Linked DNA regions of Homo sapiens: regions 2, 3, 4 and 5 are each linked to region 1. Evidence: promoter capture Hi-C in human tissues and cell types (Jung and others, 2019). All regions are on one chromosome and are shown on one strand. The core of a region is centred on a gene start or on the middle of the fragment in contact, and the rest is flanking DNA. Distances in the headings are between cores, read along the strand shown. Region 1 holds the start of TBX6 (T-box transcription factor 6). Region 2 has its middle 9.2 kb from the start of ZNF785. Region 3 holds the start of ZNF688 (zinc finger protein 688). Region 4 holds the start of ZNF768 (zinc finger protein 768). Region 5 holds the start of LOC124903677 (a long non-coding RNA gene).

Region 1 (4,575 bases), core at 193-2,692:
GGACTTCCTGACCCTGCCCCAGACTGACCCATGACCCTTGCCATAGATTGGTCCCTAAACTCAGCCACAGACTCCACAGACTGGCCCTTAACCCTTGTCACAGAGTGACTCCTGATTCCTGCCACAGAGTAACCCTTGCCCCAGGCCATAGTCAGATTCTAGGCCTAGGCAGAGCTCTAGCCCCTCGGGAACCACCCAGTCCTAGCCCCCTCCCCAGGGACTCTGCCTTTCCCAAGAGACCCCCACCAGAAACACGGACCCTGGCCAGCCCCTCACCTCCCAGCTTTGGTGATGATCATTTCTGTTCCCACAGAGCTGAACTCCTTCCATAGCTCCCGGTTCTCCAGGCTCAGGCTGACCCCCGGGAGGGAATGGAGGGCCTCTGGAGCTGATGGGGCCGGCTCAGTGCCCATGGCAGGGGGCAGAAGGGGCAGAGGTGGGTGCGCGGCCAGGGTGCGGGGAGCAGCCTCCATCCCGGAGAGGAAGCAATCCAGTTTAGGGGTGTCCAGTTCTGGAAGCCGGGGAAGAATGAGGAGCCAGCCGAGGGCCACAGCCCCCCTATTCTCCTACCCAGGAGCTGGTCCCAACGCTCACCGGGGTAGCGGTAGCCCTCCGCTAGGGCGGGTGGGAAGCTGGAGTCGGCCCCAGGTTGGGCGGGCCCCAGGCGGTAGCCGGCCCCCAGGGACGGGTACAATTCTCGTGGATGGTACATGTTGTAGTTCCGTCTGGCCTCAGGTCTCGCTGCTTAGGGCCCCCGGTGCTGCGAGATGCCCCCTTTATAGCTCACAGCTCAGCCCCTTCCAGATCCAGGATCACAGCCCCTCCCCTCTTTGGGGCCCTGGAGTTGGGCTGGGGTGGAGACCCCTGGGGCCTCGAAGGGGTCCGAGAGGGGGTCGGATACCTGGGTACGGTCCCCTCCTCCCCTCCCTCCCCACCCCGGGAGGCTTCATTAGCCTCGACCCCCTGCCCCCTCATTACATAATTAACTCCTCGGCTTGATTGATCCCCAGGGCTCGGACAGGGACGCAGTTTGGCGCTTCCGGCCAGCTGGTCCCCGTTCCCACGGTGGGGAGCCCCGGCTAGGGATAAGCTGGGGGGCGGGGCCTGGAACCTGGACGGAGCCAAGAGTCCCGGGACACACCTTGGCGCCCCAGACCTTCTGGCAGGTGACCGCCCTCCGCCCCCCTTCACTTGGAGGCCGGGCCCTGGAGGGAAGCAGCGTGAACAGAGGGAAAGTGCAGGCTAGAGGGACGCGGCCTGAGCTGATTTCACAGGGCACTCGGGGCCGCGAGGAGGCCGCAGCCCAGTCCCGAGCACCGTAGTCCTCCCTGGTCCCCATGCTAAAAAAACCTCCATCCCGAGCCAAGCCTCCAAAGTTCGAAGGCGCTCACAGTCCGACAGCTTCTGACGCCTCGCGCCAGGGTTTCCCGAAGGTCCCGCGCTGGGGAACCCTCGGAACTACACTTCCCGGCAGGCTCAGCGCTGAGGCGCGCCCGAAGGAGCCGGACGGACCACGCGGGGGCCGCTGGGAGTTGCAGTCCGACCGCGAGGGGGCTGCGAGGCCGGCGGCGCGGTTGCCTCCCTGGGACGCTGCCCCTAGGCGGCGGCCAAACGCTGCAGATGAGCAGACGCAGATCAGCCGAGGTCACGGCGTAGGCAGCCAGAGTGGGCTCAGGACCTCCGCCAGCAGTGAAACCGTCCCGGTTCCCGGAGACCCAGCTTGGACGGCTGTGCCTACCCCATGCCCCGCCGGGGCTCAGAACCGCACAGGTCTATAGGGGCGGAAATCTCCGCTTGAGCTCCCCCTTCCCGGATTACACGCGAGCCTGAGCTGTCTCCACTCCATTGTTTTATTATGTACAAACGCTACAGAACGAGGGGGACAGACACGCGTGGGGTAAGAAGGGCCTGGTGGGAGGAGTTCACAGAGCAGACGGTGCACTGGGACCAGGAGAGCAGAACACAGGCCATAACTATAGGGCAGGTGGGGCAGGAACGGGTTAAAAACGAGATCCAAGCCAGCCAGATCGCAGGAGGTGCGGGGGCGTCGTCCCCCTTCTGTTCTCCCCCCAAGGTCACAGTGCATGCAATAAAATATATATACAGGAGCTAGATCCGTCCTCTGCAGGGGCTCTGAGGGTCCAGAGCTCCCTTCGGGTGGCGGGAAGCCAGTGGCGCTCCCTGGCGGCCAGGCCGGGCTGGAGCCACATGCGTCGGGGGAGCGGGGGTCAGTCCCAGCCGTTGTCTTTGATCATGTGGTTGAGTTCAATGATGTACTTCCCCTCTTTGTACTTCTGGCTGCTCTCAAAGGCCTGTTCCTGAAAGGAGGGGCGGGACCGTCATCCCCGGAGCAACAGTCTCACCACAAGGCACTGGGGTTGGGAAGTGGACATGAGTGGCCCCATTTTACATATGAGGAAACTGTGGCCCAGAGGGGCAGGGCCGTATTTCTCACAAACACAGAGTAGAATAGAACTCCCTGACTCAAAGGTACTTTTTTAAGTACTAATGATGGCTCCAACAGAGAAGATAGGGAAGTGGCTAAAAGATTTCACAGTTCAGGGTTTGCAAACTGGTAGCTTCATGGCCATTTTGGCCTACAACATGTATTATGTTTGGACAGCAGACAGTTTAATAAAAATAACTTTAAAGTATTAAAATATAAGTAGGCCTTGCTCACTCCAGTTTGCCCAGCCTGCCCCCAACTCCCAACCCTGCCAATCTATGCTACCCTTTACACATCTACAGTATCTGCTTGGCCTTGCAGGCACTTGAGGTTTTTTTGTTTGTTTGGTTTTGAGAGGGAGTCTTGCTCTGTCGCCCAGGCTGGAAGTGCAACGGCGCGATATCGGCTCACTGCAACCTCCGCTTCCCGGGTTCAAGTGATTCTGCTGCCTTGGCCCCGAGTAGCTGGGATTACAGGCGCCCACCACCACGCCGAGCTAATTTTTGTATTTTTAGTAGAGATGGGGTTTCACCATGTTAGTCAGGCTGTTCTCGAACTCCTGACCTCAGGTGATCCACCTGCCTCAGACTCCCAAAAGTGCTGGGATTACAGGCGTGAGCCACCACACCCAGCCTGGCACTTGAGTTTTTGACCTCTTGTTTAGGCCAGCTCTTTATTAATTATTATTATTTTTGAAACGGAGTCTCGCTCTGTCTCCGCTCACTGCAAGGCTCTGCCTCCTGGGTTCACGCAATTCTCCTGCCTCAACCTCATGAGTAGCTGGGACTAGAGGCGCCCGCCACCACACCCAGCTGATTTTTTTTTTTTTTTTTTGTATTTTTGGTAGAGATGGGGTTTCACCGTGTTAGCCAGGATGGTCTCAATCTCCTGACCTTGTGATCCACCCGCCTCGGCCTCCCAAAGTGCTGGGATTACAGGTGTGAGCCACTGTGCCTGGCCGGCCAGCTCTTTATTTGGTAGAGGTCCAGAGTGGCCAAGCCACCTGTCCAGAGACACACAGCCAATCTGTGGCAGGGTCAGCAGCGAGCTCAGGTCAGGGCTGGCTGGCTGGCTCTGCCTGGGACATCCACCTCACAGAGGCACCACAGTTCCAAGCGACGCCTGAAGAATCCTGTCCCTTGCAGTGTCCCAAGAGCATCTTCCTGAGCATCTAATCTGATCCCTGTAACAATCCTGGGTGCTAGGCAGTGGCTTTATCTTCCACTGAGAGATAAGGAAATGAGACTCAGGGTAGTGAAATCAGACCCTGGACAGCAGCAGTGGCAATGAGGACTATGGAAAGGGAGGCTGGTGAACCCAAGCTCCATGTTGTTGCAGAGTCTGGGGCAATTTTTCTGATACTCTAAATGACAATATAAGCTGGTGACCAAGGGTTTGGAGTGAAAAAAAAAAACCAACCAACCAACTCAGATTCTGGTCCCTATTCTGTTACTTACCAGTTGGGTGATCTTGGGCAAGTTACCTAACATCTCTGGGCCTCCCTGTCTTCTTCTGTAGAGATAATAATAGCTTCTACCTAGAGGATCACTGCAATGATTGAATGAGATAATAGACGCCAGGCACACAACAGTGCAAGGCACATAAACATTCCATAAATGGTGACTCTGATTATATCCTAACTCTCTAATGGGGATCCAAGTGCCTGGGAGAGAAGGGATGGGTTAAGAGAAAAGTTCTACACCCCTTGCAAGGTGCAAGATAAAGAGAATGTGGTCAGGGATGCTGACTTGTGTGAGCTCGGCCTATGCAATCTGAAAGGCTATAGGGTGACAGCTTGTCAGGAGGAGGTGTTGGAAGGTCAGGTCAAAGGCTAGCCTGGGGTCAGAGGTGGGTGACTCACATATTTCCAGCCCAAAGTGGTCTTGCAGTTCTCGCAGTGGATGTCGGCGACAGCATGGAGGCCGGTCAGCAGCACCCGCTCCTCGGCTGGCCCGCAGCCCACGTTCACCCTGTGGGGACATGGGGTAGTCCCAGGGAGGGTCCTGCCATCACAGGGCCCACCCCCTCAAGCACTGTGTCTGTCCTCAGCATCCAAGAAATGATGCTCACAATTTCCTGCCTGCACCGGGGAACTCTGGGAGTCTCAGCAGGATGCCAGGGGTCACAGG
Region 2 (4,451 bases), core at 1,495-3,994, 500 kb after region 1:
AGAGGAATTAGAATACAACTTGGTAGAGATGAGTGCTTCTGAACCAGTGCCAGATGATAAGGAAGATGGAAAGGGGCAGTGCCAGAAAACAAATTGACATTAGACAATCTGGCAGGAGGGTTTCCGTCATTTAAGACTGCTTTTGACTTCTTTTATGACTTAGACCCTTCTAAGATATGGGCACTGAAACTAAAGCAAACAGTAGAAGAAGGATTGGTACTGTATAGAAATATGTCTAGAGAAATGAAAAAGCAAAAAAAGTCATTTTTTGATGTACTTATGATGTATTATGAAATTATGATGTATTTCCAGAAATTATGATGTATTTCCATAAAGTTGCACCAGTGTGCCTGCCTCTTCTGCTCCCCCTTCGCCCTTCTCCACCTCTTCTGCCTCTGCCACCCTTGAAACAGCAAGACCAACCCTTCCTCCTCTTCTTCCTCAGACTGCTCAACATGAAGATGATGATGATGAAGAGTTTTATGATGATCCACTTCCACTTAATGAATAGTAAATATATTTTCTCTTCCTTATGATTTTCTTAATAACATTTTCTTTTCTCTAGCTTACTTTATGATAAGAATACACTACATAAGCCAGGCGTGGTGGCATGCGCCTGTAGTCCCGGCTACTCAGGAGGCTGAGGCAGGAAGATCACTTGAGCTGAGGAGTTTCGGGCTGCAGTTGAGCTATGATCACGTCACTGCACTCCAACCTTCGTGACAGAGCAAGACCCATCTCTAAATTAAAAAAAGAAAAAAGGTGGGGGGAGAGAGTACAGTATATGATATATATGACATACAAAATATGTTTTTGTTTTTTTCTTTTTGAGACAGGGTCTGGCTCTGTCACCCAGGCTGGAGTGCAGTGGCTACCATCCTGGCAACCTCTGCCTCCTGAGCTCAAGCCATCCTCCTACATTAGCCTCCCAAGTAGCTGGGAATACAGGTACATGCCACCATGCTTGGCTAATTTTTTAATTTTTTGTAGAAGCGGGGTTTCACCTTGTTGTCCAGGCTGGTCTCGAACTCCTGAGCTCAAGCAGTCCTCTCGCCTCAGCCTCCCAAAGTGCTGGGATTACAGGCGTAAGCCCAAAAAAGTATATATGTATTTAAATATTTACTATCTGATTTTTTTTTTTTAGGACAAGGTCTGGCTCTGTCACCCAGGCTGGAGTGCAGTGGTGAGATCTCGGCTCACTGCAACCTCCACCTCCCAAGCTCAAGCAATCCTCCTGGCTCAGCCTCAGCTGGGATTACAGGCATGCGCCATGGCACCCAACCCCAAAACATGTTTTAATTGACTATTTATGTTATTGGTAAGGCTTCCAGTCAACAGTAGTTAAGTTTTGGGGAGTCAAAAGTTAGTGGAGGCCGGGTATGGTGGCTAATGCCTGTAATCCTAGCACTTTGGGAGGCCGAGGTGGATGGATCACCTGAGGTCAGGAGTTCGAGACCAGCCTGGCCGGTATGGTAAAACCCTGTCTCTACTAAAAATACAAAAATTAGCCAGGCTTGGTGGCACATGCCTGTAATCCCAGCTACTCGGCAGGCTGAGGCACAGGAATTGCCTGAACGCAGGTGTAAGAGATTGCAGTCAGCCGAGATTGTGCCACTTCACTCCAGCCAGGGCCAAACAGCAAAACTCCATCTCAAAAAAAAAAAAAAAAAAAGGCAGAATAGATGTTACTAGAGGCTAGAAAGGGAAGGGTAGGGGCAAGGGTGGGATAGGGAAAAATTTGTTAATGGACATAAAATTATTAGCTATATTGGAGGAATAAGTTCTAGTGTTTTATAGCACCGTAGGATGACTATAGTTAACAATAATATACTATATATTTTCAAATAGCTAGAAGAGAAGATATTGAATGTTCCTAACACAAAGAAATAATAAATGTTTTAAATGATGGGTATGTTAATTGCCCCGATTTGATCACTACACATCATATGTATAGAAACATCACCACATACCCCATATTTATGTATAGTTATTATGTATGAATTAAGAAGAATAATGGACCCCAAAGATTTCACATCCTAATCTGCAAAACCTTTGATTGTGTTACCTTATATTAGCAAATAGGACTTCGCAGATGTGATTAAACTAAGGATTTTGAGTTAGGAACACTAACCTGTTGAGTCTAATGTAATCACAATGGTCCTTATAAAAGGGAGGCAAGAGGGTAAAAGTCTGAGAAGGATATGTGACAACAAAAGCAGAGGTGGAGTGATGCAGTTGCTGGAGAGGGGCCACTAGCCAAGGAATGCAGGCAGCCTCTAGAAGCTGGAAAAGGCAAGAAACAGATTCTCCCTAGAGCCTCTAGAAAAGGAATGCAGCCCTGCCAACACCTTGATTGTCCCATAAGACCTATTTTCAGACTTTAGACCTGAAGAACTATAAGACGATAAATTTGTGTTGTTTTCAGCCACCAGTTTCTAGTAATTTCTTACAGTAACAAATGAACACAGATAACATTGTTGAGGAGCATTTCTGAGTTTGTCAACTACTCTATTGATGTGGGAGCACTCTCCCAGCTCTGAACTCAAGAAAGTCTAAAAAGAAGTAGGACTCAGAGACATTATGCTGAATAAAAGAAGCTTTAGACAAAAAAAAAAAAAAAAAAAAATACACACTGTATGATTCCAATTATATGAAGTTTTATAACAGGGAACACTAATTAGAATAGTAGTTGTCTCTGGTGGGGTGGGAATGGGAATTGACTAGGAAGGGGCATAAGGCAACTTTCTTTCTTTTCTTTTCTTTTTTTTTTTTTGAGACAGAATCTCACTCTGTCGCCAGGCTGGAGTACAGCGGCAGAATCTCAGCTCACTGCAATCTTTGACTCCCTGGTTCAAGCGCTTCTCCTGCCTGAGCCTCCCTAGTAGCTGGGATTATGGGCACATGCCACCATGCCCAGCTAATTTTTGTATTTTTAGTAGAGACGGGGTTTCACCATATTGGCCAGGATGGTCTCGAACTCCTGACCTCGTGATCTGCCTGCCTCAGCCTCCCAAACTACTGGGATTACAGGCATGAGCCACTGTACCCAGCCACATGAGGCAACTTTCTAGGATGATGGTAATGTTATGTATTTGGATAGGGGTTTCAGTTACAGATGTATACGTCTTTGTCAACACTCAGCAAATATACACTTAAAGTTTGTGCATTTTATGTACTTTTAACTCAAAAAATATATAAAACAAACGTGGAGCTCTAGTTAATGATATGCATGTTGAAATGTTTACGGGTGAAGTGTACTGATTTCAGCAATTTTTTTTACATGCACCCAAAAACAAAGTGTACTGGTAGAGTAACTGATAGTTACATGATAAAGCAGATACACTAAATGTTAGTGATAGAATCTAGGTGGTGAGTATATGGGTATTCTCTGTAAAAGTCCTTCAACTTTACTGTGTCTTTCAAAACTTTTAAAATGAATGGTGGCTGGGTGCAGTGGCTCACACCTGTACTCCTAGCACTTTGGGAGTCTGAGGCAGGTGGATCGCCTAAGGTCAGGAGTTTGAGACCAGCCTGGCCAACATTGTGAAACTCCATCTCTACTAAAAATACAAAAATTAGCTGGGCATGGTAGCTCATGCCTGTAATCCCAGCTACTCTGGGAGGCTGAGGCCCGAGAATCGCTTGAACCTGGGAAGTGAAGGTTGTAGTGAGCCAAGATCGCACCATTGCACTCCAGCCTGGGCAATGGAGTGAGACTTCATCTCAAAAGAAAAAAAAAAGCAAAACCACTATTGAGAATGAAAAGACACTCCACAGAATGGGAGAAAATATTTGTAAATCATGTGTCTAATAAGGGATTAATATTCAGAATTTATAAATAACTCCGGTAACTCAACAACCACTAAAAAATAAAAACCCAATTTAAAAGCAGGCAAAGAGGCTGGGCACGGTGGCTCACACTGTCATCCCAGCACTTTGGGAGGCCAAGACAGGCAGATCACTTGAGGCCAGAAATTCGAGACCAGCCTAGCCAACAGAGATGATGAAACTCCATTTCTGCTAAAAATACAAAAATTAGCCGGCATTGTGGCACAGACCTGTAATCCCAGCTACTCAGGAGGCTAAGGCATGAAAATCACTTGAGCCTGGGAGGTGGAGGGTGCAGTGAGCCAAAATGGCACCACAGCATTCCAACCTGGGCAACAGAGCAAGACACCACTCAAAAAAAGAATTAAAAAAAAAAAAGATGAAAGCAGGCATAGGATTTATATAGACATTTCTCCAAAGAAGATATACAGATGAGCTGGGCGTGGTGACTCACGCCTGTAATCCCAGCACTTTGGGAGGCTGAGGCAGGTGAATCACCTGAGATCAGGAGTTCAAGACCAGCCTGGCCAACATGGTGAAACCCCATCTCTACTAAAAATACAAAAAAAAAAAAAAATTAGCCGGGCGTGGTGGCGCACGCCTGTAATCCTAGCTACTTGGGA
Region 3 (4,486 bases), core at 161-2,660, 480 kb after region 1:
GGGGCCACGCTAATAGCTGGGTCAGGGTTGCGTTCCACCAGCACTTCAGGACTCTCCTTCACAGGAGCCTTTCTAGGCCCTTTGGCTCTTGGGACTTCCTCCGGTTCCTCTTCCTTCCTGTTTGGGACATCTCCTGGGAAACCGGAATTAAGTTACACTTACAAACACTTTTGCACAGACTGTCTCAGGTTATAGAATGCTTTTCACTTAAGGCAGTGAGGGAAGTTCTGTCCAGTGATTAACACACAGGCTTTAGAACAAGGTAAACAGGATTCAGATCTCCTAAAAGTGCCTTATCTGAGCCTTGGTTCCTTATGCATCAAATGGGAATAATAATGGCTTTTGACTTCACAGCGTTACTGGTTTAGCTGAGTAGATGCATGTTAAGCACTTAGGAAGTGCTCAGGAAGCAGGGGCTATTATTTATTTATTTATTTATTTATTTATTTATTTATTTATTTATTTTTGAGACGGAGTCTCACTCTGTCACCCAGGCTGGAGTGCCTGGTTGGACTGGGCTCCCAGTCCTCACAGGACCGCTGTCCCATGTTCTGAAAACTTTGTACCAGGTCTGCCTTCTTTACTCCTCTAGTACCCAACACAGTTGAATTTCTTTAGGGATGCTGGAAGTGGGGGCCTGAAAAGAAACTCTGCTAGACAGGAAGCCCTGGAAAACCAAGTGGGGGGACCCGGGACTATCCCTCACCTCTCCGAGCTCCTCCCAGTCTTTCCCCCTTCTCAGGATCCTGGGCGGCGGGGCTCCAAGCCTCACTCTCCTGTTCCATCCAAGAGATGAGGGCTGGTTTGGGGCCTGGGAATCCTGGGAGAGAACAGGGATCACAGCGCGGGCCTGAGAGGCCATCGTGGGAAGATGGCATTCCCCTCCAGGCTGAGGGCACCCCCTCGGAGCTTATACTCAACCTGGAAGGGGCTGCAGTGCTGCTGCCTGAATGAAATGGATGCGGGTGAAAACACTCCCGAGGGGGTACCTGAAGCCCTGGGAACGGGAGGTGGCTGCTGGTGTTGGTGCAAGAGTGCGGGATTAGGGCTCACAGTCCTCTCGGCCCTTCTACATCATCTCCCCTGTGAACCCGGTGAAGGAGGAGGGGGCTCGGACCCGGGGCTCTCACCGAGCGCGCCCAGGTGGCCGTAGGTCTCCTGCATCACGTCCCGGTACAGAGCCCTCTGCGCGGGCCGCAGACAGCCCCACTCCTCCGGGGAGAAGTACACGGCCACGTCCGCGAAGCTCACAGTCCCGGGCTTCCTGCAACCAGGCCGGGTCTCCCCGGGCCTCGGCGCCAGGAGCGGGGCTGGGGGCGGCGCCATGGGGCCTCGCAGCCCCGATCGGCGGCCGCCAGGTCCCTGGAGCCGCCGCCTCCCCGCTCCCGGCCTCAGCTGTCGTTGTCCACAGGAAGGGCGGCCCCGCCCAGCCGTGGCGTCCGAACGCAGCCGAGGCAACCGAAGTAGCAGGGACTGGCTGCTAGGGATTCGAGGATTCTGATAGGGACAAATATAATTCCTCAGTGTTTATTCACTTCATGGCCGCTTGGACATAGACACCCGGGTTAAGGGACCCGGAAGGTGCCTTCTGAAAATATGGCGACCACCCTTCAATTGTCACAGGCTGCTCTTAAGGGCGCCATTATTTGACCATATCAAATATGGAGCCTTTCTGACTTCTCTGGCCTCATCGTCCCACTTGCCCTTAAATAAAGCCGCTTCGGCTGCTTTTTCTAGTGGGGGAGGCGGGGTGTCTGGGAAGTAGAGGAGAGGCTTCTTGCCTTCAAGAAAGATGTAAGGGCCCGAAGCTTCACTTACCCCTCTGTACCCGCAATACGCAACGGCCGATGATTGGCGACGATCCCGGAAGAAGCTGCGCGGTGATTGGCCTGGGACTGGCGGGGCATTTGAAGGGACCCCGCGGTCCTGAAGCCTCTGTTGACAGACTGGAGCGCAGCGGAGACCTCGGCATCTGCGGTGCTCGGGATTGTGTCCCCTACGGTCTCTTACCGTGCCTCCCGATGGCGGGAGCTGGAATTTGGTCCCCAGACCCCTTGGGAAGACGCGCACACCCTGGCAAACCATGTGTACACCCGCGGTAGAAGCAGGTGCGTGTTTTACAGTAGCTTAGCTGCGGAGTCCACCCAGCCCCTGGCATCCGCAGCTCGGCTCGCTCAGGCTCTAGACCGAAGCTGCAGGCGAAGGAACGTGCTTGGTGAGGATGGAATCGGAATGGGGAAGTTTTAAATTAAATAGTAATTGTTGCTAACATACATGAATTTATTTTTTGTTTGTTTTGAGACAGGGTCTTGCTCTGTGGCCCAGCAGTGCGATCCTAGCTCACTGCAGACTCGACCTCCCGGGCTGAAGCGATCTTCTCACCTCAGCCTCCCGAGTAGCTGGGACCACAGGCGCACACCCAATGCTTGGCTAATTTTTAAATTTTAAAACAGAGACAGGGTCTTGCTATGTTGCCCAGGCTGGTCTGGAACTCCTGGCCTCAAGCAATTCTCCTGCCTCGGCCTCCCAAAGTGCTGTGATTACAGGCATGCGCCACGGTTCCCAGCCATTTCTACTTTTTCTTTGAGAAGGAGTTTTACTCTTGTTGCCCAGGCTGGAGTGCAATGGCGCTATCTCGGCTTGCCCAGGCTGGAGTGCAATGGCGCTATCTAGGCTCACCGCAACCTTCGCCTCCCAGGTTCAAGCGATTCTCCTGCCTCAGCCTCCCAAGTAGCTGGGATTACAGGCATGAGCCACCATGCCCGTCTAATTTTGTATTTTTAGTAGAGACGGGGTTTCTCCATATTAAGTCAGGCTGGTCTCGAACTCCCGACCTCAGGTGATCCTCCCGCCTCAGCCTCCCAAAGTGCTGGGATTACAGGCGTGAGCCACGGCGCCCGGCCCTGCCATTTCTACTTATTTACGTTGTTCCAAATTATCAAAGATAGCATCAACTTTCAAATCCTAATTTTTTTTTTCCTGGGAAACCTTCCTCCTTTAGCCTTCAGTCTCCTCTCTAAACTGGGTTGGGCCTCAGTTCTTCTCATACCGGGTCTCCCCTTCCTGCTGTCCTGGGTTGTATCTTCCGCTTCCTAGATTTAAGGTCTTTATTTTTCAGCCAAGATGGGTCATCCTCATGGCTGGTGGCATTGGACTGTAAATACTAGTTGCCTTCATCCCCACATTTGGAATATACCTGCAATCATACAGGATGCAGAATACTGTTTGCTAAGCGTGGGGCTGGTTGCTGGAGATAACAAGCAAGGCCTACCAGGTCCCTGCTGTCATTCTGGCTCTGGATCTACTTGCTTGGCTCCCCTGCCAGCCCTAGTATATCGAGCCTTCCTTTTTATTCAATAGTGTTTTTTATTGCTGACTTTTCAGTCAAGATTTCTTTGTGTTTTCTGGCCTACCCTTGCTGTTTTTCACCTGAAATGCTTTTTGGCTTTTAGTGTGACTCCTGCTGATCTCATATGCATATGTTATTAATTGATTAATTATTAATTGTTAATAATTAAATATTATTAATATGCTTACATTATTACCTTGAGTTCTGGAACTGCCTCACTGCACTCCATGTGGTGAATACTGTAGAAATTATATAAGGAAAAATATATCCTTAGAAATGAGTATTTTTTAAATTTTGAAAATATTTAATTTAGGCCCAGCCCAGTTGCTCACACCTGTAATCTCAGCACTTTGGGAGGCTGAGGTGGGCAGATTGCTTTAGGCCAGAAGTTAGAAACCAGCATGGGCAACATGCTGAAACTCCATCTCTACTAAAAATACAAAAATTGGCCAGGTCTGGTGGTGCACACCTGTAGTCCCAGCTACTCAGGAGGCTGAGGCACAAGAATTCCTTGAACCCAGGAAGCAGAGGTTGCAGTGAGCAAGATCATGCCACTGCACTTCAACCTGCGTGACAGAGTGAGACCCCGTCTCAAAAAGAAAAAAAAATTGGGCTGGGCACAGTGGCTTGTGCCTGTAATCCCAACACTTTGGGAGGCCAAGGCGGGAGGATCACCTGAGGTCAGGAGTTCGAGACCAGCCTGGCCAACATGGCAAAACCCCGTCTGTACTAAAAATACAAAAATTAGCTGGGTGTGGAGTCGGACGCCTGTAGTCCCAGCTACTCAGGAGGCTGAGGCACAAGAATGGCTTGAACTCAGGAGGCAGAGGTTGCAGTGAGCCAAGATCACACCATTGCACTCCAGCCTGTGTGACAGAGCAAGACTCCATCTAAAAAAAAAAAAAACAAACAAAACAAAAAATATATTGATACACAAAATTTTTACATATTTATGGAGTTCATGTGATATTTTGCTTTTCTTCATACATAGAATGTACAATAATCAAGTCAGGATATTTAAGGTATCAATCACTTTGAGTATTTAACATTTCTATGTGTTGGGAAAATTTCAAGTCCTCTCTTCTAGCTATGGAAATTTACAGTACTTTGTTAACTACAGTCACCCTACTCTGCTAT
Region 4 (4,418 bases), core at 850-3,349, 430 kb after region 1:
CTGGCCCCTTATCTTCTGCCCACACCTCCCACCCCTGCTGGGGCCCCAGGTCAGCGCCGGCCCGCCGCGTGGGTCCGCTGGTGGCGGATGAGGTCGGAGCTCTGGGAGAAGGCCTTTCCGCAGTCATCGCACTTGTAAGGCCGCTCGCCACTGTGGACCCGGTGATGCTGCAGAAGCGTGGAGGAGCGGCAGAAGCCCTTGCCGCACACGGCGCACCTGTAGGGCCGCTCGCCCGTGTGGGAGCGCTGGTGCTGGATGAGAGTGGAGGAGCGATTGAAGGTCTTGCCGCAGTCGGGGCAGCTGTAGGTGCGGCCTGGCAGGTGGGTGCGGGCGTGGATGGCCAGCACCGAGCTCTGGCCAAAGCGCTTGCCGCACTCAGGGCACTTGAAGGGCTTCTCCCGGGCGTGGCTGCGGGCATGGGGGATAAGGGCCGACCGCTGGGAGAAGCTCTTGCCGCAGATGCCACAGCTGAAGGGCCTCTGACCGGTGTGCACCCTCTGATGGCTGCGCAGGGACGAGTTCTGGCTATAGCACTTGCCGCACTCGGTGCAGCTGTAGGGCCGCTCGTGGCTGTGGGTGCGCTGGTGTCGCAGGAGGTAGGAGCTGTCGCCGAAGGCCTTGCCACAATGTGGGCACTTGTAGGGCTTCTGGCCAGAGTGAGTGCGCTGGTGGCGAAGCAGGTAAGAGCTGTCGGCGAAGGCCTTGCCGCAACGGGGACATTTGTAGGGCCGCTCGCCAGTGTGGGTGCGCTGGTGTTTGATGAGGTCAGAGCTCTGGGAGAAGGCCTTGCTGCAGACCTCACATTTGTAGGGCTTCTCACCGGTGTGGATGCGCTGGTGCTGGATCAGGGTGGAGCCCCGCCCGAAGCTCTTCCCGCAGATGCCACAGATGTTAGGCCGAGGGCCCTGCCCACCCCTGGCCCGGCCACCCCGCCGACCTGGACCTCGAAGGGCTCCTGTGAGACCCAGGGGATTCTGAAGCATCTCAAACTGCGGTGTAGACAGCAGGGCCCCTGTGGGCATCTCAAAAGGTGGCCCTATGGGCAGGTCCCCTGTGGGCTGCTCCCCAAACCCCTGAGTGAAGGAGTCCAGGGGGTGAACTCCTACGGAGATATTCAAAGGACTCTTTTCCTCGGGGTTCAGAAGCATCTCCGCACCTTCCTGGAATTTGGAACTTTGAGCTTCAAATTCTGGGCTTTGGGTTTTGAGCTCAGTGTTCTGGGATTCATATCTAGAGCTCTCAGATTCATAGCCAGGGCTCCGGGGTTCATACCCGGGGCTCCGAGGTTCATAGCCAGGGCTTTGGGGTTCATACCTAGGGCTCTGGGATTCAAACTCAGGGCTCTGAGAATCTGATTCAGGGCTTCTGGGTGCAAACTCAGGGCTTGGGGGCACAAGCCCAGGGCTTCGGGACTCAAACCCCGGGCTTTCAGGCTCAAATCTGGGGCTTTGGGGTTCAAACTCTGGGCTTTGTGGCTCAAACCCAGGGCTCTGGGGTTCAAGCCCAAATGGTATCTCTTCGACTTCATAGTCCCCACTGCCTTCTTGCTGAGAAATTTCCTCTTCCTCATTCTCACTCATGTTGCCTGCAGGATGAGAGAATCCAGATCGTGTGAGACCTGGAAGGTCATTTGGTCCATTAGCAACCACACACCTCCCACCTCACATGCAGGGTCGCTGGCCCCTAGACAAGTGCTGAAATTCCCACGCCCCCCTCAGCTGACCCAAGACACCCCAGTCCCCGCCGGCCCCTCCTTCGAGTCCCAGGTGTCCCAGCCCCGGGCCCTCGCTCCCTCCCTGGAGCCACAGCCCCTTCTCCTGCGCGCAAGTCCACTCCTCGGACGGGCGCTCCCTCCTCACCTCTGAGGTACCCTTCGGGGCTCCTCATTTCGTCAGAACTCTGCACATCCTGGGGCTCGAGGCCCCACGGCAACGCCTCCCGCTCCATCCCCGCGGGCTCCCAGTGCAGCGGCGGCGGCGATGGCGGCCGATCCCGCGACCCGGCCTCGGTTGCCCCGAGCCGCGGGCCCCCGCCTCCCGCCCGCTCAGCGCCGCCCAGGGGACTCGGCGGCCCAGCCCGGGCCCCCGAGGCCGGACGTCTTGACCCCGCGCCTCTCCAGCGCGCCGGGCCCCTCCCCTGCCCGCGGCCCCGCCCCCTCCCAAGGTCTCGGCCTCCCCGTGGCCCTCACTGGCCCCCGCGCGTCGCGGCCTCGGGGATGAGGGGCTTCGCGACTACCCCGGCGGCCCCCGGCCCCCGCTCCCGCCCGAGCCCCCACCTTCTGGACCCCGGCCCCGGGCTGGGCTGCACTGTCCAACGGCCGCCCAGCACCCCCCCACCCTCCCCCGCACAGGAAGTGTCCGTCCGCGGCCAGGTCCCCCCGCCGGCTCGCGCCGCGGCCTCTCTAGGAGCCGCTGGAGGTGGAAACTCGTTGGCATTAACCCTGGGCTGGAGGGGCCCGGCCACGGGGTGGGTGAGGACCGGACGCCCCGGAGCCCGCGGGGCTACCGGGGCAGTGTGTGTGCCTATGTTCTAGGTCTCCGTCCCTCCAGAGGCCCGTCTGTCCATCTCCCGGGCCCCGCGTCGTCGGTGCGTGTGGCCAAGGGCGAGGCGACAAGCGAGACCAAGGTCAGCGAGAAGGAGCGACGCTTCCCGGCGCCAGCGGGGGCGGTGTCTCGCTCCCTCCCCTCCCGGGCCTCCGGGTCAGCTCCGGCAGCGCCTCGGGAACCGGGACGGACTCCCCTTGGCCTCGCCGAGGTCCTTGAGCCTGGGACCCCCTCCAGGAACTCCGCTCCCCGGCACCTGCGCGCGCCCGCTCCCGTTCCTCCGGCCCCCACCCAGCTCGGCTCCCCTGATCCTCCTCCTCCCTCCTCCCTCCTCGAGGGCTAGGATAGTTGCCAAGGAGACAGCCCCGCCCCGGCTCCCAGAGGCACAGCTTCTCCGCCCCAGGAAGCCCGGCGGTTGGCCGATGGGGCTCGTGCTCTAGCCGCCCCGCCTCCTCCAACCCCGCGGACGGCTGGGCGTTAATGGTCGCCAGGGAACGCCAGGCGCCTTCCTGATTGGCCGGGAGTGCTGTGGTCGGGTCCGCCTCCCCTGTCGGCCAGAAGCGCCTTCAGGAGGTAGTGGGAGGGAGGTGCCAGGCATCTCCCCTCCAGCCCGGCCTGTGCCATCAAAACTTTTCCCGCCCCCACTTAGCCTCCATTATGTTTTATGAAAGCCAGAAGATCTGAGGACAGACACCCTTCCTCCTCGTCAGCCTCACACCCCTTGCCTCTCCCCTCCACCTTCCCCAGCGCCTGAGTTTAACTCAATCCCTGGCAGCCTTAGTCCCTGTTGTTAGATTTCCTCACAGGGAGGCAGGATTCCTTCCAGGTGAGGGTGATACAAAGGAGAATTGGACTGAGAGAACCATCTGGCCTTCGAGGCATCTAACAACTCTCCAGTCTTGTCTGACTCGAATGGAGTCTTGCAGAGGAAGGGAACCTGAGAAACACTGCCTCGGGCGCAGCTTTGAATTGAGGAAGTGAGCCTGGACAGACAACTTAATATCATCCAGTTCTTGTCTTTTTTTTCTACGCTTCGTGCTGAAACAAGTTTGGCAGCGTTCTTGACAGTTAACGAGCCCGATGCCCCTGTGTGAGCAGGAGCCATGGATCGTGTTTTCTTGTCGCCTACCCAGACAAATGAAGGGAAGAGAATGTTTGGGAGGAAGGATGGCCTCTCCTTCCTGAAAAGAGGTGAGAACAAGAACTTGAAGAATGCCAAGTGGTAAAAAGTGGAGAGAAACTATCTAAATAAAGGCTTACAGGTGGGGCGCACTGGCTCATGTCTGTAATCCCAGCACTTTTGGGAGGCCAAGGCAGGTGGATCACGAGGTCAGGAGTTCAAGACCAGCCTGGCCAAGATGGTGAAACCCCGTCTCTACTAAAAAAATACAAAAATTAGCCAGGCACGGTGGTGGGCACCTGTAATCCCAGCTACTTGGGAGGCTGAGGCAGGAGAATCACTTGAACCCGGGAGGCGGAGGTTGCAGTAAGCCGAGATCTCGCCACTGCACTCTAGTCTGGGTGACAGAGCAAGACTCCGTCTCAAATAATAATAATAAAGGCTTACAAATAAAATCACAAGAGCTTATGCCACGAATGAAGCGGGGAAAACTTTCTGCCCTCCAGAGAAACAGCTTCCAGCCCCATAGCTCTCTCCCATCCCAATGTATGTTTGTCTTGAAACCTTTGCTAAGAATGGCTTACATGGTCCAGCACTAGAGCCCACAGTCAAACAGCCTACAAGAGGACCAGTTTTGGGAAGAGCTGGACATGGGGTACCCTCTGGTCATCCCCAAAGCACTCACACAGGTAGGAAACAAGTCTCCTTCACAAGACACTTTTCTCTGACATCCAACTTGCTGATCCACCAAAATT
Region 5 (4,628 bases), core at 914-3,413, 460 kb after region 1:
TGCTGTCGGGGAGGGGGAAAATTGGCAGAGTCAAAGGAAGAGGAATCGTCCTAAGCTGGGGCTGTGGGGAGGAGGATAGGAGGCGAGTCAGATTTGGAGCGGACAAGGAGGATTTAGAAAGTAGAACAAGACTGACAGAGGGAATGGCAGTTACAGAGAGTGAAGATGTAGCAGGACAACCTGCAGACAAAACCCTTCAGACACCGAGTTAAAGAAGGAAGGGCTTTATTCGGCCAGGTGCTTCAGCAAGACTCACTTCTCCAACAACCAAGCTCCCCGAGTGAGCAATTCCTATCCCTTTTAAGGGCTCACAACTCTAAGGGGGTCCACGTGAGAGGGTTGTGATCTATTGAGCAAGCACGGGGCACATGACTGGGGGCTGCATGCACCGGTAATTAGATCGGAACAGAACAGGACAGGGATTTTCTTTTTTTTTGAGACAGAGTCTCGCTGTGTCACCCAGGCTGGAGTGCAGTGGCGCGATCTCTGCTCACTGCAAGCTCCGTCTCCCAGGCTCACACCATTCTCCTGCCTCAGCCTCCCAAGTAGCTGGGACTACAGGCGCCCGCCATCACGCCCGGCTAATTTTTTGTACATTTAGTAGAGACGGGGTTTCACCATGTTAGCCAGGATGGTCTCAATCTCCTGCCCTTGTGATCCACCCGCCTCGGCCTCCCAAAGTGCTGGGATTACAGGCGTGAGCCACCGCGCCCAGCCCAGGACAGGGATTTTCACAGTGCTTTTCTATACAATGTCTGTAATCTATAGATAAGATAACCGATTAGGTCAGGGGTCGATCTTTAACTACCGGGCCCAGTGTGTGGCACTGGGCTGTCTGCTTGTGGATTTCATTTCTGCCTTTTACTTCTTCTTTCTTTGGAGGCAGAAATTGGGCATAAAACAATATGAGGGGTGGTCTCCTCCCTTAAAGAAAACCTGAACATAAGGAATCTCAGACCATTTCCCACTGTGATGGCAAAAGTTGTAAAGTGCTATTTTTGGGCCATTGGGAGCCACTGTCCAGTTGGTATTGAGGCCATGTGGTATTGCAGTAAAAGATAAGCCTCTTAGAACAGACCTCTGGGCCGGGTGTGGTGGCTCACGCCTGTAATCTCAGCACTTTGGGAGGCCGAGGCGGGCGGATCATGAGGTCAGGAGATCGAGACCATCCTGGCTAACACGGTAAAACCCCGTCTCTACTAAAAATACAAAAAATTAGCCGAGCGTGGTGGCGGGCACCTGTAGTCCCAGCTACTCGGGAGGCTGAGGCAGGAGAATGGCGTGAACCCAGGAGGCGGAGCTTGCAGTGAGCCGAGATCATGCCACTACACTCCAGCATGGGCAACAGAGCGAGACTCCGTCTCAAAAAAAAAAAAAAAGAACGGACCTCTGAATGGAGCCCGAGAGCATTGAGATTGCGGAATGGAGGAGGTAGGGGTAGAGGAAGAAGAGACTGCTGCTGACAAGGACGGTGGGAGAGGGCGTCCCCTTTCTTGCGGAACTTGTCCGGAATAGAGGAGGTAACTGCCGTGTCAGGCATCCCTAAAATGGAGGAACCAGAGGCCCACAGGCCGGAGGAAGCCCTTGGCCCAGCGCTGGGTCTTTCAGAAATGGAGAGATGGATGGTCAAGGGTTCTGAGGAACGGCAACAGTCTCTTTTTACTCACCCTGGTGGAGGTGGTGGATGAAGTCGTCAGCAATGGGAGAGTCTAGGAGATTCTCTGGGTCTTTGGCAGGTTCAGGGAAGGGGAGATTGGCTGGAAGAGGGGTGATAGGGTAGGGAGTAGGGAGGGAGACAGACAGAGAGAGTGAGTGAGTGAGTGAGTCCTGGCCAGAGGCTATCCCCTTCCCGGGTTTTGGCACCAGAATGTAAGGTCAGCCAAGAGAAAGGAAAAACAGACCCAAAGTTAGGCAGGTAACTTTTTATTAACCTGCTGGCTGCTCCCTTAACAGTCAGAGAGGAAGTAGCCCCAAGCTTACAGAATGAGGGGTTTATATTGGGGAGGGGAGTTTGATGGAGTTCTTTCGTATGGCCGCATCCTGGGGTTGTTTGCTGGTTAATTTTGCTACATATTACCTTGTGACGTTTATTACAGGAGGGTGTAGGTAAAGTTTGTTTATGTTTCCCATGACCTCCCCCTGTGCAGTGTGGGTGGTTTGTAATTGGGGTTTGCTTATTGCAGCAAGGTCTGATAAGCAAAGTCTGCTGGCTTCACCGTGGTGCCTAGGTAAGGGCTTAGAAATGTAAAGAGGCTTGGGGGATGGGTGGACAGCACCAAGAAGGTTTCTTGGGCAGTTTGTCCCTAACAGAGGGCTGGTTTGGAGTCAGGGAATCCTGGGGAAGAACACTGACCACTCAGGAAACATATCAAAAAACAGACACATATCCTAAGTCTACATTCATTTCATAAAAATGTATTGGCCCCCTCTTGTGTGCCAAGCATTATTCTTGGGTGGCGAAGACATTGGTGAGGCAAGATAAAGTCCCTGCACTAAGTTTACACTAAGCTGGGGGAGAGAGATACCAGGTATGAATTCAGCTGACACGAGTTTGGGGAAGACCTTCTAGGCAGATTGTGTCCAGGATAAAAACACAGAGGCACAGTTCTGAGGCTTCTAGCATGGGACAGACAGACTCCTGGAGGAATTTCTTAGAGATAGCATTGAAGGTCATTGACAGAGGAATTTGATTTGCAAGTGTAGCCTATATAGAACAGAGTAGCTAGAACAAAGGCTCATTAAGATAGAGGCATGGGCTCTATTAGCTGGGCGTGGTGGCAAGTGCGTGTGGTCCCAGGTACTTGGGAGGCTGAGGTGGGAGGATCACTTGAGTCCAGGAGGTTGAGGCTGCAGTGGGCCCAGATCACGCCACTACACTCCAGCCTGGGCGACAGAGCGAGACCCTGTCTCAAAAAAGTGTTCATAGCCAGTACCCCCATGACCTTCCAGGCCCATGGCAAACCAACCTTCTCAAAGTCAAACCCCCATCTTTCCCTACAGGCAAACGATCCCACTTAGCTCCAGCTAAATGGATGGAATCTTTGTTCTCTGAACGTGCCTGTTTTTTTCTGGAGACAGAGTCAGTCTTCTTCTGTCACTCAGCAAAGTGCTGAGATTACAGGCATGAGTCACTGCCTGGCCTGACATGCCTTTATCTCTCTCTCTTTTTTTTTTTTTTGAGATGGAGTCTCACTCTGTCGACCAGGCTGGAGTGCAGTGGCGTGATCTCGGCTCACTGCAACCTCCGCCTCCTGGGTTCAAGTGATTCTCCTGCCTCAGCCTCCTGAGTAGCTGAGACTACAGGCGCCTGCAATCACACCCAGCTAATTTTTGTGTTTTTAGTAGAAATGGGGTTTCACCATGTTGGCCAGGCTGGTCTTGATCTCTTGACCTCGTGATCCACCCACCTCGGCCTCCCAAAGTGCTGAGATTACATGTGTGAGCCACCGCGCCTAGCTAATTGTTGTAGAGATGGGTTTTCGCCATGTTGCCCAGACTGGTCTTAAACTTCTGGGGCTCAAGTGATCTGCTCCCATTGGGCTCCCAAAGTGCTGGGATTATAGGCATGAGCCACTGCGCCTGGCAACCTACATTTTTAAAAGACACTCAGCCAGGCACAGTGGTTCACACCTGTAATCCCAGCACTTTGGGAGGCTGAGATGGGAGGATCACTCAAGGTCAGGAGTTTGAGACCAGCCTGGGCTCCTGAGACAGGTTCCAAAAATAAAAACCCATAACAACAAAAGAAAGACCAGCCTGGGTGACAGAGTGAGAACTTTTCTCTAAAAAATTTTTTTTTTTTAATTAGCCAGGTATAATGGTGCACACTTGTAGTCCCAGCTATGCAGGACTGAGGCGGGAGGATGGCTTGAGCCCAGGAATTCAAGGCTGCAGTGAGCTAAGATCACACCACTGCATTCTAACCTGGGTGACACAGACAGACCGTCTCAAAATAATAATAATGATAATAATAATAAAAGATAACCTCGTGATTCTGCATCAGGGAGGCCTTATTTGAAAATACTAGCCTAGTATTAACTTCTTTGGGTCATATACATCTTTGCATGCCTACATGCCTATTCCTAGAGACACACACATACACAAACATTCCAAGGAGTTTTAGGGGTCTTGGAGCTCAGATCAACACCTAGCCTTATTTTATTATTATTATTTTTTGAGACGGAGTTTCACTCTTTTTTTTTTTTTTTTTTTTTGAGACAGAGTCTCGCTTTGTCATCCAGGCTGGAGTGTGCAGTGGTGCAATCTCAGCTCACTGCAACCTCCGCCTCCTGGGTTCACGCCATTCTCCTGCCTCAGCCTCCTGAGTAGCTGGGACTACAGGCGCCCACCACCTTGCCCGGCTAATTTTTTTTGTATTTTTAGTAGAGACAGGGTTTCACCATGTTAGCCAGGATGGTCTCAATCTCCTGACCTCATGATCCGCCCGCCTCAGCCTGCCAACGTGCTGGGATTACAGGTGTGAGCCACCGCGCCTGGCCCGAGACGGAGTTTCACTCTGGTCACCCAGGCTACAGTGCAATGGCGCAATCTTGGCTCACTGTAACCTCCACCTCCCTGGTTCAAGCAATTCTCATGCCTCAGCCTCCTGAGTAGCTGGGATTATAGGC

What was found. Contacts are between HindIII fragments. The study calls those that stand out against the background at their distance.
Region 2: a contact is called between a fragment that was not itself captured here and the fragment with the promoter of TBX6 in region 1, in 1 of the 25 tissues and cell types used here (lymphoblastoid cells).
Region 3: a contact is called between the fragment with the promoter of ZNF688 here and the fragment with the promoter of TBX6 in region 1, in 3 of the 25 tissues and cell types used here (H1 embryonic stem cells, hippocampus and lymphoblastoid cells).
Region 4: the fragment with the promoter of ZNF768 here is called in contact with the fragment with the promoter of TBX6 in region 1 in 3 of the 25 tissues and cell types used here (dorsolateral prefrontal cortex, lymphoblastoid cells and small bowel).
Region 5: a contact is called between a fragment that was not itself captured here and the fragment with the promoter of TBX6 in region 1, in 1 of the 25 tissues and cell types used here (hippocampus).

Annotation. Positions count from the first base shown.
Region 1 is chr16:30,090,482-30,095,056 of GRCh38, forward strand. It overlaps TBX6 (T-box transcription factor 6), which reads right to left and starts at 1,443. Exons shown (of 9, transcript NM_004608.4): 1 at 1,392-1,443; 2 at 595-760; 3 at 277-511. The coding sequence starts at 712. It overlaps YPEL3 (yippee like 3), which reads right to left. Exons shown (of 4, transcript NM_031477.5): 3 at 4,308-4,416; 4 at 1,833-2,318. The coding sequence ends at 2,229. RefSeq lists enhancers at 1-780, 1,913-2,102 and a silencer at 1,433-1,692. The HindIII fragment of the contact is 30,865 bases long and covers 1-4,575 here.
Region 2 is chr16:30,592,622-30,597,072 of GRCh38, forward strand. No RefSeq gene overlaps it. Among named protein-coding and RNA genes, the nearest start is that of ZNF785, 9.2 kb to the left of the region's middle. The HindIII fragment of the contact is 3,722 bases long and covers 884-4,451 here.
Region 3 is chr16:30,570,304-30,574,789 of GRCh38, forward strand. ZNF688 (zinc finger protein 688) reads right to left here and starts at 1,411. Exons shown (of 3, transcript NM_145271.4): 1 at 1,131-1,411; 2 at 707-820; 3 at 1-133. The coding sequence starts at 1,326. RefSeq lists an enhancer at 1-316 and a silencer at 1,179-1,418. The HindIII fragment of the contact is 17,900 bases long and covers 1-4,486 here.
Region 4 is chr16:30,524,467-30,528,884 of GRCh38, forward strand. ZNF768 (zinc finger protein 768) reads right to left here and starts at 2,100. Exons shown (of 2, transcript NM_024671.4): 1 at 1,860-2,100; 2 at 1-1,585. The coding sequence starts at 1,947. The coding sequence ends at 51. RefSeq lists enhancers at 1,546-1,605, 3,186-3,485 and silencers at 1,806-1,855, 1,876-2,195, 2,286-3,115. The HindIII fragment of the contact is 23,531 bases long and covers 1-4,418 here.
Region 5 is chr16:30,546,450-30,551,077 of GRCh38, forward strand. It overlaps LOC124903677 (a long non-coding RNA gene), which reads right to left and starts at 1,814. Exons shown (of 2, transcript XR_007065050.1): 1 at 1,668-1,814. The HindIII fragment of the contact is 3,144 bases long and covers 592-3,735 here.